6 separate regions of the Homo sapiens genome follow, and regions 1, 2, 3, 5 and 6 are each linked to region 4. Evidence: promoter capture Hi-C in 16 types of primary human blood cells and fetal thymus (Javierre and others, 2016). All regions are on one chromosome and are shown on one strand. The core of a region is centred on a gene start or on the middle of the fragment in contact, and the rest is flanking DNA. Distances in the headings are between cores, read along the strand shown. Region 1 overlaps CUBN (cubilin). Region 2 overlaps CUBN (cubilin). Region 3 overlaps RSU1 (Ras suppressor protein 1). Region 4 holds the start of ST8SIA6 (ST8 alpha-N-acetyl-neuraminide alpha-2,8-sialyltransferase 6). Region 5 overlaps RSU1 (Ras suppressor protein 1). Region 6 overlaps CUBN (cubilin).

Evidence for each region. The method cuts DNA at HindIII sites, captures the fragments that hold promoters and counts their contacts. A CHiCAGO score of 5 or more calls a contact.
Region 1: a fragment that was not itself captured here is called in contact with the fragment with the promoter of ST8SIA6 in region 4 in 12 of 17 cell types (erythroblasts, M1 macrophages, M0 macrophages and 9 more); the score reaches 15.1 in erythroblasts.
Region 2: a contact is called between a fragment that was not itself captured here and the fragment with the promoter of ST8SIA6 in region 4, in 1 of 17 cell types (M1 macrophages). The highest score is 5.2, in M1 macrophages.
Region 3: a fragment that was not itself captured here is called in contact with the fragment with the promoter of ST8SIA6 in region 4 in 1 of 17 cell types (erythroblasts); the score reaches 7.2 in erythroblasts.
Region 5: a fragment that was not itself captured here is called in contact with the fragment with the promoter of ST8SIA6 in region 4 in 1 of 17 cell types (naive CD4 T cells); the score reaches 5.1 in naive CD4 T cells.
Region 6: a contact is called between a fragment that was not itself captured here and the fragment with the promoter of ST8SIA6 in region 4, in 4 of 17 cell types (M1 macrophages, M0 macrophages, M2 macrophages and 1 more). The highest score is 7.3, in M1 macrophages.

What each region holds. Positions count from the first base shown.
Region 1 is chr10:16,829,505-16,832,204 of GRCh38, forward strand. It overlaps CUBN (cubilin), which reads right to left. Exons shown (of 67, transcript NM_001081.4): 65 at 1,748-1,913. Among named protein-coding and RNA genes, the nearest start is that of RSU1, 13 kb to the left of the region's middle. The HindIII fragment of the contact is 1,229 bases long and covers 782-2,010 here.
Region 2 is chr10:16,868,719-16,871,418 of GRCh38, forward strand. It overlaps CUBN (cubilin), which reads right to left. Exons shown (of 67, transcript NM_001081.4): 59 at 918-1,135. Among named protein-coding and RNA genes, the nearest start is that of RSU1, 53 kb to the left of the region's middle. The HindIII fragment of the contact is 1,057 bases long and covers 804-1,860 here.
Region 3 is chr10:16,812,142-16,814,841 of GRCh38, forward strand. The region is part of intron 2 of RSU1 (Ras suppressor protein 1); the gene reads right to left. Among named protein-coding and RNA genes, the nearest start is that of RSU1, 3.9 kb to the right of the region's middle. The HindIII fragment of the contact is 794 bases long and covers 1,049-1,842 here.
Region 4 is chr10:17,453,276-17,455,975 of GRCh38, forward strand. It overlaps ST8SIA6 (ST8 alpha-N-acetyl-neuraminide alpha-2,8-sialyltransferase 6), which reads right to left and starts at 1,320. Exons shown (of 8, transcript NM_001004470.3): 1 at 880-1,320; 2 at 284-382. The coding sequence starts at 980. The HindIII fragment of the contact is 5,030 bases long and covers 1-2,700 here.
Region 5 is chr10:16,793,656-16,796,355 of GRCh38, forward strand. The region is part of intron 2 of RSU1 (Ras suppressor protein 1); the gene reads right to left. Among named protein-coding and RNA genes, the nearest start is that of RSU1, 22 kb to the right of the region's middle. RefSeq lists enhancers at 1,812-2,031, 2,242-2,301. The HindIII fragment of the contact is 3,505 bases long and covers 1-2,700 here.
Region 6 is chr10:16,847,599-16,850,298 of GRCh38, forward strand. The region is part of intron 60 of CUBN (cubilin); the gene reads right to left. Among named protein-coding and RNA genes, the nearest start is that of RSU1, 32 kb to the left of the region's middle. The HindIII fragment of the contact is 2,587 bases long and covers 1-2,572 here.

The DNA.
Region 1 (2,700 bases), core at 146-2,645, 620 kb before region 4:
AGTGCGTTATTGTAGGTGACGGCAGGAATGACTTCATTATAAAAGTGACTTTACCAGGCTAATAACTGACATACTTAAGGTCAAATACTTCAAGTTTTGGTGTTAATTTGTTCAATTTGTTAATCTGTATATGAAGGCTGTCATGATTTAGACTATATATCTGTGGAGATCCAGGTCATCTCTGGGACAGGAAGAAGCTGGCTGGCATAGTTACAGAGCACGTGGCTGGGCCTCTGACCACTGAGGTCTAATCTCACCTTCACCTCAGTCTAGTGGAGCATTTTGGGCAACTCATTAATCTTGGTGGGTTTTTTTGTTTGGTTGGTTTTTTTTTTGAGATGGAGTCTTGCTCTGTCGCCCAGGCTGGAGTGCAGTGGCACGATCTTGGCTCACTGCAAGCTCCACCTCCCGGGTTCATGGTGGGTTTTTTTTGTTTTGTTTTTTTTTTTGAGACGGAGTCTTGCTCCGTCACCCAGGCTGGAGTGCAGTGGCGTGATCTCGGCTCACTACAGCCTCCATCTCCCAAGTTCAAGTGATTCTCCAGTCTCAGCCTCCCGAGTAGCTGGGATTACAGGCATGTGCCACTACACCCAGTTAATTTTTGTATTTTTAGTGGAGATGGGGTTTCACCCTGTGGGCCACACTGGTCTGGAACTCCTGACCTCAGGTGATCCACCCACCTTGGTCTCCCAGGGATTATAGGTGTGAGCCACAGCACCTAGCTTAATCTTGGTGTTTTATTTGCTCGTTGATAAAATTTGAGCATTGGAGGTCACCTTTAAGCTTCCTTTGGGTGCCAAGATTCCATTACCCACGATTATCTTTATAGAACGCTTTTCTTAAGATATTTAAAGTGAGTTCTGTTTATCTTTCTTATTTTGAAGGTATTTTGGTATTTTGGGATATTTTATAAAGGTATTCCTCCTCTCTTGAATTAAATGTATTGACATGACTTAAATTTTCTTTAGTTGTTTGATAAACAGCCAGCCAAAAATGTGAGAAGATACTTACTACCCTAAAAAAAGCAATTTCTCTCCAGAACCGCCAAGAAATGTCAGGGCCTGCGAGAAGCACAACTACTCATATATATGCCAGAATGTGTTCATAAGTTGGATTTTTGGTAAAAATTTTTCTTTAAATTCTCAAAGAACTTCCTTGATGGTCAAGCCAAAAGTCAAAAAGTCTAACAAAATTTAATTTACCAAGGAATTTTTGAATCTTCCTACCTTACCTTATATATGTTTCATATATGAATATATATTCTTTTATAAACAGAAATAATGAATAAATGTAAAATTTAAAGTAATCTGGCCGGGCGCGGTGGCTCATGCCTGTAATCCCAGCACTTTGGGAGGTTGGATCACCTGAGTTCAGGAGTTTGAGACCAGCCTGGCCAATATGGGGAAACGCTCTGTCTACTAAAAATACAAAAATCGGCTGGGCATGGTGGCGCATGCCTGTAATCTCAGCTACTTGGGAAGCTGAGGTAGGAGAATCACTTGAACCTGGGAGGTGGAGGTTGCAGTGAGCTAAGATCACGCCACTACACTCCAGGCTGGATGACACAGCGAGATTCCATTTCAAAAAAAAAAAAGTAATCTGTACTTTCAATGTTAAAATCTCTATTCTTAACATAAACTAATCAGGTACACAGGTAGCTAAAAATATAAAGTTACTTTGCCTTTTACTATTAGACACCTCATGTTTTTCTCACAGTGCTTTCCTGTACAAAGTGCAAATGTCTTACCAGAGGGTGATGAAGTCCAGATGATTTCATATCCACGATCAGAAGTTACACTATCACTCTTAAATCGTAGGTATAGTTCATTATTTTGAGAGAAGACAGGGTTTGGCAGCAGAGTTCCACAGTACTTGCCCAGTAATGGTGAATTGCTGTTACTTCCATTTCTCACCTTTAGGAAGGAGTCATTCATTATTAAACTTACACTTTCTTCTCTAAGGTATATACATTAAAATGGAGACAATTTGAATGATGACATTGGTCGGAAAAGCTTTGTCTTTTTATACAGTTAAGAATGAAGCGTTTTCTGAAAATACATGCAGAAGTCACCTTCACTTGCAAAGGGGAAAAATGTTCCACGTGTAGATCAAAAAACATTTGCATTTGGATTCAGAAATACCTGTTAACCTACAGCAATTAAAACACCAGGCAGCTTTTTTATACCGTAGTTTGTGCTGTGATCCTGCAGCCTTTGCTTTTGGGGAAACATTCTGGAGAATGTAGGTAAAGTGAATTTTTAAAAGGTGGAGATGGGCGGGGGCAATGTTGCCTGCTCTGCTTCCAGTCAACTATTACACCTTTCTCATTGTGTGTGTGTTTGTGTATGTGTGTGTGTGCACGTGTTTCCCATTGAAAATTACTTGGCTGTAAAGAGGCTATGAAAAAATACAATGCAAAGTATAATAAAGTTCAGAACGAAAGGAATTTCTGTATGGGCAAAGGACAGAATTATAAATCTATACAATGTCTGTTGTTAAATGTGTTTTACAAACACATTCCGAGGCCTTGTTGCTTTTTTGTTTCAACTCATTTTTGAGTAGACACATATAAAAACAGGAGATGAGCCTGTGTTTTATGGGGAGAGAGAACTACACTGTGAACTGAACCACTTTCTGTCCCCCAGCCTGGCTGCTACCCTGCATTCACAACCAGCCCTGCTTCCAGGAGGGCTCTCGACG
Region 2 (2,700 bases), core at 82-2,581, 580 kb before region 4:
AGTAATCTGGGGCATATTTTCAGTTTATCCTCTCACCTAACTTTACCTACCCCCGCTACATCACCCTCTCCAGTCCAAATTCCTTCTCAAGCATCAGCTTCCAACTAGACAGCTCCATTTAAACAGGTCTTCCAACTTAAAATACTCCAAATTAAATAAAACATTTCTCCCTTAAATCTTAGTCTCCTAAGCCACCATCATCCAACAAATTACCTATAGAAAGTCATCCTCAATTCATGTCCTCATTAAAATATCATCAGAGTCCAAACACTGTGCTTCCAATGTATTCTGCCTTCCGTCTCTCAGATTTCTGCCCTTCCCTTTATCTCTTTCCCCTCTGGGTCCGTTCAAGGCTTTGACACTTCCCATCTAGATTTCTATCATAAGCTTCTTCCTTCCCATGTTGTAGGTTCTTCTAGCCTTCCTCCACTGTGCTACCAAAGTGATTTTTTTTTTTTTTTTTTTGAGACAGAGTCTCATTCTGTCACCCAGGCTAGAGTGCAATGGTATGATTTTGGCCCACTGCAACCTCCATCTCCTGGGTTCAAGCAATTCTCCCACCTCAGCCTCCTGCGTAGCTGGGATTACAGGCACACACCACCATGCCCAGCTAATTTTTGTATTTTTGTAGAGATGGGGTTTCACCATGTTGGCCAGGCTGGTCTTGAACTCCTGACCTCAGGTGATCCACCCGCCTCAACCTCCCAAAGTGCTGGGTACATTTGTTGAGTGATTTTTTTACAACATTAAAATATGTCATACGTAAGTTTTAAAACCAAGCCCTTACATGGCATATTCTTCTAAGCTTCAAGGAAAAGCAATCATAATCAGGTGGGGGTGGGGGGGGGGCGGGGAAATTAAATAAAGCAGAAAGGTAACAGTCCTGACAAATAGATTTACAAGTCCAGAATTCTTACCCAATGTCTGCCGGAAAGACATCTTCCAGCCTTTTGCTGTCTGAAATGAATCTGTCTTGAACACCAGGAGCATACTATTATTGCTGCTCTTCACATTTGGTGGGCGCTTGGAACCGCAGAATTTGCCAAGAAGGGGATCGCTGGTATTGGCACCATCGTAAATTGCCAGGTAGTCATGGGAGCAGGAGGTGGAGGGAACCACATCAAAATCACTGAACCTGTGAAATGTACCTTGTTAATACTGATGTTTCCATTTGGACTTCTATTAAATTGTAGCTTTAGCTCTTGCAAAAAAAATGACAAGGAAAAAACTACCAGTAGAGCATTCAAAACTCACTTGATATGAAATATTAGAAATCAAACAGTACTTTACTGATCAGTTCAAAAGTTTAGCCAAATTTGTTTTTAGTAATTACAATACAACAAAAACTGTGACAGCAGCTGGGGATGTCAAAGTGAGTAAGATACAGTCTTACTTTTCAAGGAATTCACAGTCTAGGGCATATTAAAGTCCATCTGAGAACAACTTTTGACAAGTTGAACTGATATTTACTATCCCAGCAATACTTTAGTTTTTTAGGTCTCATTAAAAATACCATATTTACTCTTCCCTTGTTATTTTATGAGATGAAGTAGAACTTATGGGAAGCATGTTAATATAATAGAAGAAATGCTGCTTTTAGAATCACAGCTCCATTCTCCTCACAGTCTCATTTTCCTCTTTTAAAATGAAGTTTATGTTAAGGTCAGGTGAAGAACAGGAAATTTACATTTAAGACCTCTGTGGTGGTCACTGACACTTCTGCACATGGTCCCAGCTCTCTGCCTCCCCAGCACTGGTAGGATTGCCCTAGGGGCACACTTTGAGGCTTGACATGGCTGCTAGGAGTTGCTTTGACCACAGAAATGTAAGCAGAAGGGATACATATTACTTTACGGAAGAAGCTTTACAAATGACTACTTGCTTTGCCACACTGCCTTCCCACTGCAGTGATGATCATGGAAGCAAATGTAAAAACGAAGCTTCCATCAGCCTGGGTTGTTGGATGACCACGATGAGCAGAGCTTCCATGCCAGGCCACACTGAACATGCTCATTACAATGAGAAATCAACTTGTTGAGTTAAGCTGCTGTGAGGTGGAGTTGTTTGTTACTATGTGCATAACCTATCCTGACAGATGCATCCCTAACTTTTCTCTGTCTTATACAGTGTTTAATTCAGGTCTTATTCTTTGTCATTTCAAATAACGATTTCTAGAGTTCCTGAACAAGCAAGGCTTCTTACATGGATTTACTTTAGAGTTTTGTGGTGGGTTTATTATAGCTTATTTTTAAAACTTGTTTAAAAAAATAATATTTGATATCCTGTCCTCATTTTTATAGGTTCTTCTGCTTTTTCTTTTTTTTTTTGAGACAGAGTCTCACTCTGTTGCACAGGCTGGAGTGCAGTGGCACAATCTCAGCTCACTGCAACCTCTGCCTCCCTGGTTCAAGTGATTCTCTTGCCTCACCCTCCCGAGTAGCTGGGATTACAGGTGTCCACCACCATGCCTGGCTATTTTTTTTAATTACATGTATATTTTTTAGTAGAGATGAGGTTTCTGCCATGTTGGCCAGGCTGGTCTTGAACTTCTGACCTCAGGTGACCTGCCTGCCTCAGCCTCCCTGTGCTGGGATTACAGGCATGGGACACCATGCCCAGCCTGCATTTTCAATTTATTTTGGCAGTAGCTCTAATAAACAATCCATAATATGGAATAATTTTGAAAATATAGACTAAATA
Region 3 (2,700 bases), core at 196-2,695, 640 kb before region 4:
AAACATAAATAATTTTAAGGCCGGGCACAGTGGCTCACGCCTGTAATCCCAGAACTTTGGGAGGCCAAGGCGGGTGGATCACTTGAGGTCACGAGTTCAAGACCAGCCTGGCCAATATGGTGAAACCCCGTCTCTACTAAAAATATAAAAATTAGCCAGGTGTGGTGGCGCACGCCTGTAACCCCAGTTACTGGGGAGGCTGAGGCAGGAGAATCGCTTGAACCCAAGAGGTGGAGGCTGCAGTGAGCAGAGATCACGCCACTGCACTCCAGCCTGGGCAACAGAGCAAGACTCCATCTCAAAAACAAAAAACAAAAATTAAAAAACAAAAAAATGATTTTAATAGATTATATCTAAAATTACAGGTCCTCCCCAGCTCTTTAATCTATCCCCCAAAGAAGGTCGACATGGATAGCATGTGTTCCAGGTTTAACAAGACTTTTGAGATAGCTCTTCCAGATAACCCATGATCATATTTGTTTATTATTTTGCCTGGTCCTTTAGAAAGACCACTCCCTTGAAAGCAGGTTGTTTTCGAGATTTATCTGAAAAATATTTTAGTCTAACTTGGAAAAAAAATGATAAAGGCTTGACCACCCAGAGAGGGCAATACACTTGAAGAGATTAAAAAATCAGGAAACACTTAAATAAGAGAAATGAAAGAAAGTTCCTCCGGCTACAGCTGGGATTCTGTCTCTATGGAAATGGAAGCTGATTACAGGGCCCTTCAAAATCAACTTTATCAACCAGATGAAGACAGCTGCTGCTTGGGAAAGAGTTTCTGCAGTGAAATCTCTTTAATAAAAAGAATAAAATCAGCAGCATTACGATTATGCTGGGAAGCTTTTTTTTTTTTTTAAGAGACAAGGTCTTGTTCTGTCACCTAGTAACACGATCATAGCTCACTACAAACTCAAACTCCTGGGTTCCAGCAATCCTCCCACCGCAGCCTCCCTGAAAGCTGGGACTTGCACATCACCCTCAGCTCATTTTTTAATTTTTTGTAGAGATGGGGTCTCACTCTATTGCCCACACTGGTGTTCTTGGAAGCTTTAACGAGAATGTGTGTGCAAATTACATGCCATGTTAAAACAAAATGATGGAAAATAAATAAATTAGGACAAATTTTAAATAAATAGCTATCTAAATCAATTAGAACCTTAGGCAAAAGTACCAAACACTACAGGTTCTAATAAGCCACACAAAAAATTCCAACACCTGATACAAATGCCTTACCCAGTCGAGTTAACAAAGTAAAGTTCTTGGTTCAGGCTACTGACTATGTTGGAACTGGGTATGTCTGAGACATATGGGTCTATAGCTGGATATTCATATTAATAGTTAACATTTAATGTACATTATTGGATCTAACACTAGTTAATAACTAACATTTAATGTGCATTATTGCATTTAACGCAAACCATTAAACCAGTCTTATGAAGTGGTTTCTTAGGCTACCAATTATTAAGTAACTTGAGGATCAGAGAGGTTAAGTAGCTTCTCTAAGGTTACACAGTACTAACTAGCAGAATTTGAATCCACGTCTATCCAAATCCAGGTTCCCCTCCTATGTGCTGTACTCCTCTGCCTCTCATGGTAGGAAGTGAGCATTTCTAGAATCTGGCTGGACTACTAGAAAACTGTAGAACCTGTCTGATACCTGTCTCCAGCCTAAGAAGTTTTCCCCATCAGAAAGTTCTTGGTACCTAAACTCCTCAAAACATCTTTTAAAGGTAATTTGCTGTCTCTAAGGAAGGGCTGCGTTAGAAGATACAACTCTCCCAGGAAGAAAGACGGGCATCTCATATGCTTAGTAGTACAAAACCTTACTTTTATCTTCAAAGCTTAATTCTAACCTCTTGAGAAATTAAACAAAGTAAGAATAATAAAGGGAAAACTTGAGATGCAAGAAACAGCTATTCTCTGTACATACAAGTTTAAGCTGTGTTTAAGCTGGATACTAGTATATAAAACTTCCTGGTTACAGCTAAAAGTTTATCAGTAAAGAAACATGGAGGTTGGGTGTGGTAGCTCACATGTGTAATGCCAGCACTTTAGGAGGCCAAGATGGGGGCACTCCTTGAGCCCAGGAGTTTGAGGCCAGCCTGGGCAGCATAGCAAGACCCCATCTCTACAAAGAAATAAAAAATAAAACCATTAGCCAGGCGTGGTGGCGTGTACCTATAGTCCCAGCTACTCGGGAGGCTGAGGTGGGAGGATTGCTTGAGCCTGGGAGGGTGAGGCCCCAGGGAGCTGTGACTGCACCACTGCATTCCAGCCTGGGTGACAGAGCGAGACCCTGTTTTCAGGAAAAAAAAAAAAAAAAAGAAAAAAAAATTCTTACACTTATAATTAATGTAGCCATGTGAAGTATTTTAATACTTGTATATATTAAGCACTGTGTCAGTGTGTGTGCACTGCTGAGAAGTGAGCCCTGGTGGAGGCTTCGAAGAGCATCCTGGAACCCCCTAGGCTCCGAGAAGTCCTGAGGTCAGGGAGTTTGCAGAGAGCAGCCTTGGCTCAATGCTACAGAAGCCAGAGGAGATGGAATCTGCAAATCTCCAAATTCACTTCCACCCAACTTCCCAAAAAGTACTATTATCCGTTGTTAGCTACTTCTTTAGGAAAATTTAAGAATGATCTCGCTTTTCACCACCCAATGTTATACCGGAAATATATTTCAGGAAGCAAGTGGCTTTT
Region 4 (2,700 bases), core at 70-2,569:
ACACCATTGTCGAGAGGAAAACTCAGCACCCGTTTTTCAAATGCAGCTGCTGGAGGATCCCCCTTGATTCAAAGACCATTCACATCCAGGCTTAGAGGGTTGAGGGAGTGTGAAGGGTGCCCCCCCCCAACCCCGCGCCCTCTTCAAACACACGCACACTCTTACACTCACTCGCGCCGTCCCAGCCTGCCTACTCCCAACGAGTCCAAGCCGGTGCAGCCGCGCCCCATGCCCGGCTCGCAGCTCCCGAGCCCCAGTCCGCCCGCGCTGGGCGCCGCTGTACCTGTTAGTGGCGCGCGGTACCGCGGTCGCCGGGCTCCGGAGCGTCCTCAGCGCTGCGGGGGTGCCGTGGGTGGCCTCCCTGCTTTCCTCCACCAGAATCCTGCACAGCCGGGGAGAAAACTTAAGTTGCTACACCCCGCCGGGAGCTGTTGGCTGAAAGGCTGGGAGTCGCGCTCCTTGCCTGGCAGGGAGATCTCGCACTCCCCGGCTCCCAGGCCAGGTCCCCAGCCCCAGAGTTGGAAGAGCCTTAGGGCGGGAAGGAAGAGACAGCAAGGACCAGAATGGGGAGCATGAGATCCTGATGCGGAACCCGACGGCAGGTCCCGCTCCACAGCTGCCTCGCCCACAGCGATGCGCGCTAGAGCCCCCGCAGCCCTGACCGGTCCCTCTGCTCCCCAGCCGCCGTCCACCGGTCGGAGGGTCGCCTCCCTGCGACCCCCTCCCCCACTCCACTCTCAGGCCGTCGCCGCCCGTGGGCTGCTCCCCGCCGCGGCCAAAAGTCTCCGCGCCCGAGGGGAAGCGATGGGCGGCTTGGGGGTCCGGGGGCGCCAGGCGGGGCGCGCGGCGCGGGGCGCGGCCGGCGGGTGGGTGGGTTACCTGGCGCGGCCGGGCGCGTCTGCCGGGCACCAGAGCAGGCGCAGCAGCAGCAGCAGCAGCAGGCTGGCGAGCAGGGCGAGCAGTGCGCCCCCCGGCCGCATCCTGAGCCACAGGCGCCGCCGCCACCGCTGCTGCCGGGGCGAAGCACAGCCCGGGCGGCCCCGACTCGCGGCTCCCGCCGCCGCCGCCACCGCCGCCGTGGCCGCAGCCCCGCGCACCCACAGCGTTCACAGGCGGCAGCGAGGGGCGCCCGCAGCCCACCCGGCAGAGTCTCCGCGGCGGGCGGAGAAGAAGCCGCGTTCGGGCTCGCCCCGGGCTCCCGGCCCCGGCCCGCGGAGCGCCGCGATCGGCTGGCAGATGACGATTCGCCGAGCTCGCCGCCTGTCCTCCCGGAGGCGCTCGGAGCTGCTGCGGGCTCCGGTCGCCGCTGCCACTGCTGCTGCCGCCGCCGCCGCGCGGGGTCACCTGAAGGTTGGGGCGCGGAAGCTCAACTCCGTGCTGATTGGGCTCCAAGTTTTCTGCGCCCTCGCCTCGTCCCGAGTGCCCGCGAATCCCCCGGACGCCCACGCAGACCACCCAGCCACACCACAACTCTGCCTGCGGAGAGAGGAGAGGAGAAAAAGGGGCCGCTTCAAAAACTTTCAAAACTGTGCAGTCGCTTGGCTGGATCCTCCCACGCATGAAGAAAGCTGGGGACTGGGGAATTGCTGGGTGGATCATGACACTGAACAGAAGCAGTAACCTGTGCTTACTTCAACCCAGATTCAGAGGGACAGCGAACTGGTATGAGGGGCTAGGAGACCTTTAGGCATGAGCACATTACTACCTGGAGACCCGTTTAGCCCCTGCCTGTATTTGCAAATAGTTTTATTGGAAAACCTCCATGCCCATGGCTTTGTATTATCAGTGACTGCATATGGCTGTATGATCTAGGGCTGCAAGGGCAGAATTGAGTAGTGATGACAGAGGTGGCATAGCCCACAGGGCCTAAAATATTTACCATTTGAAACTTTCCAGGAAAAGTTTGCATACTGCTCTTAAATAAGCAAGAGGCCATTAGCTTGAGGCTGTCTCTGTACGTTGAGTTCCCACCTAACAATGGAAACCTACATTAGGCTGTAATGAACAGGGGGCTACTGGCCAATCATGGGCAACCAACTCATTATACCAGGCCCCACAAGGCAGCCTGCATAGCTATAGCCAATCAGTTTCTCCACTGTGCTTCTGAGTTTGGCCTATCAGGCTTTGCTGCTCACACCATGGGGTGGACCTCACTGGACCTCCTCTGGTTGTGAGTGCTGCCCAATTCATGAACCCTTTGCTCGAATAAACTGTGCTAAATTTAATTTGTCTGATGTTTTTCTTTTAACACTGCTATGGGCTGAATGTTTGTGTCTCTACAAAATTCATATGTTGAAACCCAAATCCCCAATCTAATGTGGTGGTATCTGGAGGTGGGGCCTTTCATACCTGATTAGTTCATGGGGTGGAGGCTTCCTGGTGGAATTAGTTCCCTCATAAGAGCAGGCAGCGGGGAATTTGCCTCCTCTCTCTCTGCTCTGTGCAGTGTAAAGACACAGCACGAGGGCAGCTTTCTGCCAAGCAGGAAGAGGACCCTCACCAGAACCTGACCATGCTGGCACACTGATCTTGGGTTTCTTACCCTCCAGAACTGTGAAAAATAAATTTCTGTTCTTTCGGTCACCCAGCCTATGGTATCCTTCTTATGGCAGCCAGAACTAAACCACGGTCTAGATCATATTGGTTAGTATCTCATTTACGAGTATCTCATCTGTTGCAGGAGAGTGATCCAATGACACT
Region 5 (2,700 bases), core at 26-2,525, 660 kb before region 4:
ATGGTATTAACAAAACTTGGTGAGCTACAGCTACTCTGCAAGCCACTGTACTTCTTTGGTGGGACAGGGATAGAATATGAGTGAGATGCAGCTGCTGCCCTCAATGAGCTTCCTCTGCAATAAGGAGATGAAATAAAACACTAGGATACAATACAGAAAGTGATGGTGAATGTTATTTGTCAACTTGACTGGGCTACGAGATACCCAGATAGCTGGTAAAATGTTCTTTTCCAGGGTCTGTGAGGGTGTTTCCAGAAGAGATTAGCATTTGAATCAGGGGACTGAGTAAAGAAGACCTACCCTTGCCAATGCAGGTGAGCAATAACCAATTCATTGAGCGCCTCAATAGAATAAGAAGGCAGAGGAAGGGAGAATTCATGAAGATCCATCTTCTCCTGCCCTCAGACATCAGAGTTCCTGGTTCCTGGGCCTTCAGATTCTGGGACTTGCATCACTGACACGCACCCCTCCTATGACTCTCCAGCCTTTGGCCTTGCACTAAATTACATTACCAACTGTCCAGGTTCTCCAGCTTGCAGACAGCACATCATGTGACTTCTTAGCCTCCATAATCACCTGGGCCAATTTCCATAATAAATCTCCATATATATATTGCCTATGGATTCTGTTTCTCTGGAGAACTCTGACAGGCAGACTTGTACCATAAAAGTACTAAGGTGCTTTGAAACTCCCATTAAAAGGGAAGTGCCTGAAAATTTTTTTAGGGTTAATAAAACCTTCAAGGACCAGAGTCCATTTTGTTTTATTTCTAACTACCTTCCTCCTCTGTCTCTTCTTTTTTCTTTTTAGCTTGTTTGTATTGACTAATTTTTCTAGCATAAACTATTTTATTTGTGTAACACAAAACTTATGCAGTTTTAGAAATCATGGTTATAGAATGTTGGAGCCAAAGGAACTCTAGAAATCAAACAACTTAAGCTCCTCAATTTACAGATAAGAAAACAGTGGGCCAGAGAAGTAAAGGTATTCTAAGATTCCACGGGCCAGCAGAATCAGAACAGAGTACAATCAAGGTTTCCAGATTCTAAATCTTGAGCTTCTTCTTTGCAAACTGGAAAATTATTATTGACACCTGGATGGAATGTCCTTTATGACAGCAATTCCAACCATAATAAAAATAATATAAACCTGAATGGAAAATTCCTTCCTATCTAGAATAAAATAAGACACAAAAGCAAAGCAAAGAACGCACAGTTCCTAGCAGGTGAGACCTGCCCTGTCATCCCATGAGATCCTGAGAAAAATCACTGGATTGTTCTGGAGCACAAATTCCTCATCTTTAAAATGAAACAAATAAAAGAGAGAAAAAAGATTATTTATGTAATGACCACTACATCACTGTGTTGTGCTGAGCACTTTACATATGTGTTCACTAGAATCAAAAATGTTAGAACAGTCCCGGCGTGGTGGCTCATGCCTGTATTTCCAGCACTTCGGGAGGCCGGGGCAGGCAGATCACCTGAGGTCAGGAGTTCGAGACCAGCCTGGCCAACATGGTGAAGCCCCATCTCTACTAAAAATACAAAAATTAGCCAAGTGTGATGGTGGGTGCCTGTAATCCCAGCTACTGGGGAGGCTGAGGCAGGAGAATTGCTTGAACCCAGGAAGCAGTGGTTGCAGTGAGCCGAGATCGCGCCACTGCACCCAAGCCTGGGCGACAGAGTGAGACTCCATCTCAAAAAAAAAAAAAAAAAAAAATTAAAAAAAAATAAGGTAATAACAAACAACAATAGCTAATGCTTACCAAATGCTTAAAACATGACTGGCACAGTTCTAAGAACTTTATCAATTCACCTATTTCTCACGATAACCCTACAAGGCAATAGTAGTCTCTTCTTCCCTCTCAATTTTAGATGAGAAAAATGAGACACAAGAGGTTATGTAACTTGTCTGTGATTTCAGAACTAGTAAGCAGAGAGAACCCCCTAAAAGCTGTTTCCAAACAAGAAGCTGATTAATTCTGATACTGTCTTACTGGCTAAACAAATATGCCACCGGTTGCATCCACAATTTGCCAACTGCATGGCATTTTATGATGTTCAAAAGACAAGGAGTTTAAGTACACAGGTTGTTTTTTTGCCAAAGTTAAGACATGAGCAGTATTAACTGTGCACACTTTGCATTTCAGAAAATTGGGTGTATCTTCAACCCCCCGGACCCCTAAACAAGCCGCCCAGGTGAGGCACCGGCACCCTCTTCCCAGGGGCTGATGTCAGACGTTTCTCTATCACTCTCCATTCTCCGCTTGAGCAGCAGCTCTCTGCGTCCGCCTCAACCTTCCCCCATACTTCTCACCTGAACCTGGCCCCACATTTCCCTGGGAAAAGTAAACCTTCTTTTCAAGCAGGAGGAGCTGGAATCCTAAACCTGCTGTCTGTACAAAAGCCACATGACTCTTGGAGCTCTAAGAGTTCTAAGTCCCTCAACAGTCACTAAATATTAGAAGACCATGGTGTGCCACCTGCTCTTACCCGAAGGCAAAACATGATTTGGTCTCGTAGGCAGCTCAACCATTATTTTTAACCTTGGATTTTGATTCTCTCCCCACATGTCATCCCTTATCCTGGCCTCCAAGTGTTGCCTTCTCCAATCCTATAACCAGTCACCTAGATTGACATTGATCATCAATCAGCCCCTAAGTCAAACTTAGGTGTGTTTCTTCTGATCTGCTCCAGGGCC
Region 6 (2,700 bases), core at 29-2,528, 610 kb before region 4:
AGAGATGTCTTTAACTCTCTACATCTCCAGTGATGCTGGTACAGGGCCTGGCACATACCCTTGCCAACTAACTCCTGCAATGGATGCGATGTGGATTTCAAAAGAGACTGCTCAGTGACATGCACAATTCACTACGTGATTCAGTTACCGTAATTACTCTCCAAGTCAACCCTTTCACAAACGATCATGATAGAATTATGAATGAATAATGGAATTGGTATGATTTTACTTGTGTATCTACCACAGAGTTCAGTTAAATTAGCTTTTCTAAAAAGTGATTTGATTATAATCTCTAAAAAAAAATCTAAAAGGAATCAACCGTCCCATTTATCACAGAAAAATCTCTTTAATAAAGAAAGCTCCAAGCTCCACATTCCAAGGGCTATTCTTTGATCTGCCAGTTTAGTGGTAGTTGGAAACGTTGCCAATGGAAGGAAATTGCTTTTCCAAGGGGGAAAACAAGAATAGTTCTGAACAGAATTTATTTGAAAAAAACGATATTTTATTTTGAAGCAAGAAAATAACTCCTTGTTTTTGATATTGCAGTTTCTGGCCTGAATGAATTGCGGAAATTCAGACAATGACAGGCTGTTTTGATGACATTATCAAATCACACTCCATAAAAATGGATCTTGAGAGTAAATCCAGTCAACTCTCCTAGCAGGGCCATACTCAAATCATTCTATAAGAATTTAAAATTGTAATTTTATATGCAAATCCATTATTTTTAGTTTTTAAGAAAAAGAAATTCCATAGTGCCCATGCCTATTTGGAATTACTCCAACGGGGAAAAAAAGGGAGGTAAATTTGTTTACAATTTATGTCAGGCACAGTGCTAAACGCTCTAGTACACATAATTTCAATCCTCAAAACTGCCTTTCACAGTAGGTACTATTATGTGATTTAAAGAAAAATTGACGAAATGATGAGGAATCGGGGAGATTAGGAAATTTGTCTGACAGCAAAATTGGGTTAGAGTCCCCATACTCTCCGTCTCTAAACCTTATTACCTTTCTGTAAAGCCAGGAGAGCTCTCAAACAGTTTTGAATTCAGCTTTAGGACTGCTCTAGTCATTTTGGTCTCTCCCAGCCTTTTTTTTTTTTTTTTTTTTTTTTTTTTGGCGAAAGTATCTCACTCTGTTGCCCAGGCTGGTGTGCAGTGATGCAATCACGACTGACTGCAGCTTATACCTTCTGGGTTCAGGGGATCCTTCCACCTCAGTCTCCCGAGAAGCTGGTACCGTAGGTGCACAGCACCACACCCAGATAATTGTTTTGTATTTTTTGTAGAGACGGGTTCTCACTATGTTGCCAGGGCTTGTCTCAAACTTCTGAGCTCAAGCAATCTGCCTACCTCTGCCTCCCAGTGTGCTGGGATTACAGACGTGAGTCACCGCACTCGGCCGGCCAGGTCTCATTTTAGGAAAGGAGAATTAAACTGGAATTGACATTCCTTGCTATCTTTAGTCTTTCATGAACTCCTCTGATCCAGCTTCTGTGCCAATACTTTATTTAAATGGTTGTCATCCAGTGCAATGAGGCTGTTCTTCATCTTTCCCTTTCTTGGCCTCTACTTTACAATTCAATAGTATTGACCACCCATGCTTTGTAAAAGAATCCCCCTGCCCCTTGACTTCAGGGATACTACACTATTCCTGGTCTTCACATTTATCTTTTCATGACGCGTCTGTTCTTTTCCTGTGCCTTTTGCCTTCTCCAGTTGCCTCCCTGGGTACTTTTCCTGGAGCTGAGAGCCTGACTCTCTGAAATCTATGCTGACTCCCTCTAAGAAAGCATCCTTTCTCCTGATGGAAGGAAGGCTCTTTGCTGTGTCCTCTCTATTCGTGGAGCTGTCTTCTCACCGGAGCCCCGTTCCATTCTCTGCCCACTGCAGTCTCACTTGTCTGTCTTGCTCTCACCAAACCACACTGTTATTTTTCTGGCCTCCCAACCTTAGCCCCTTTCATAGTAAAAACAAAAGCATGTAACTAAGTGCTCAAATGGGTATTCCCTCCACAAATTTTCCTTCCTTTTCTTTTAAAATTATTTTCTCTAAAGTTTATTGCAATCCTAGAACTTAAGTTTCTCTTGCACCCCTCTTGCCATCACCGCCATGGCTGCACCCCTGATCCAGGTCTAAGACTGACCTTCTCACCTAGGAGGGACCTCTCTCTGGAGCCCTCCCAGCCTCCTCTCCTTCCAGTTCCCACAGCTGCTGATTTCAGGTTAGTCTTCCCTAGCTACTGCTGTTGTCACCTCACTCATTGGAAAACCTTCAACCACTCCTTATTTTCACCCGCACAGAGTCTAAAGTCATTAGTTTGACTTTCAGGATCCTTTGTAATCTCGGTATTTCTCTATGTAGGCCATCTTATTTCTTGCTACTCTTTAGCACTATTCTGCTTCAACACAGCCAGCCTCTTTACGCTTTCGAGAACATGCACGTATCAATTCCTATGCCTTTTTGAAAATGTTCACCTTGCCTGAATTCTCTCCTGACCTGAGTAAGTTTTCCCTCGCTCTATCAAGTCATTCTTGATCACACGAGTTTCATGAACTTTCTTTCCTTCTAAGCTTGCACATTGCTTCAAGCCTGCATCGAATGCATTCATTAGCGCTTAAATGCTGACTATCCTGAACTATGCATTCTTAATTTGCATGTGTCATCCCATAATTTTCTAATCAGACTTAAGCTCCTCA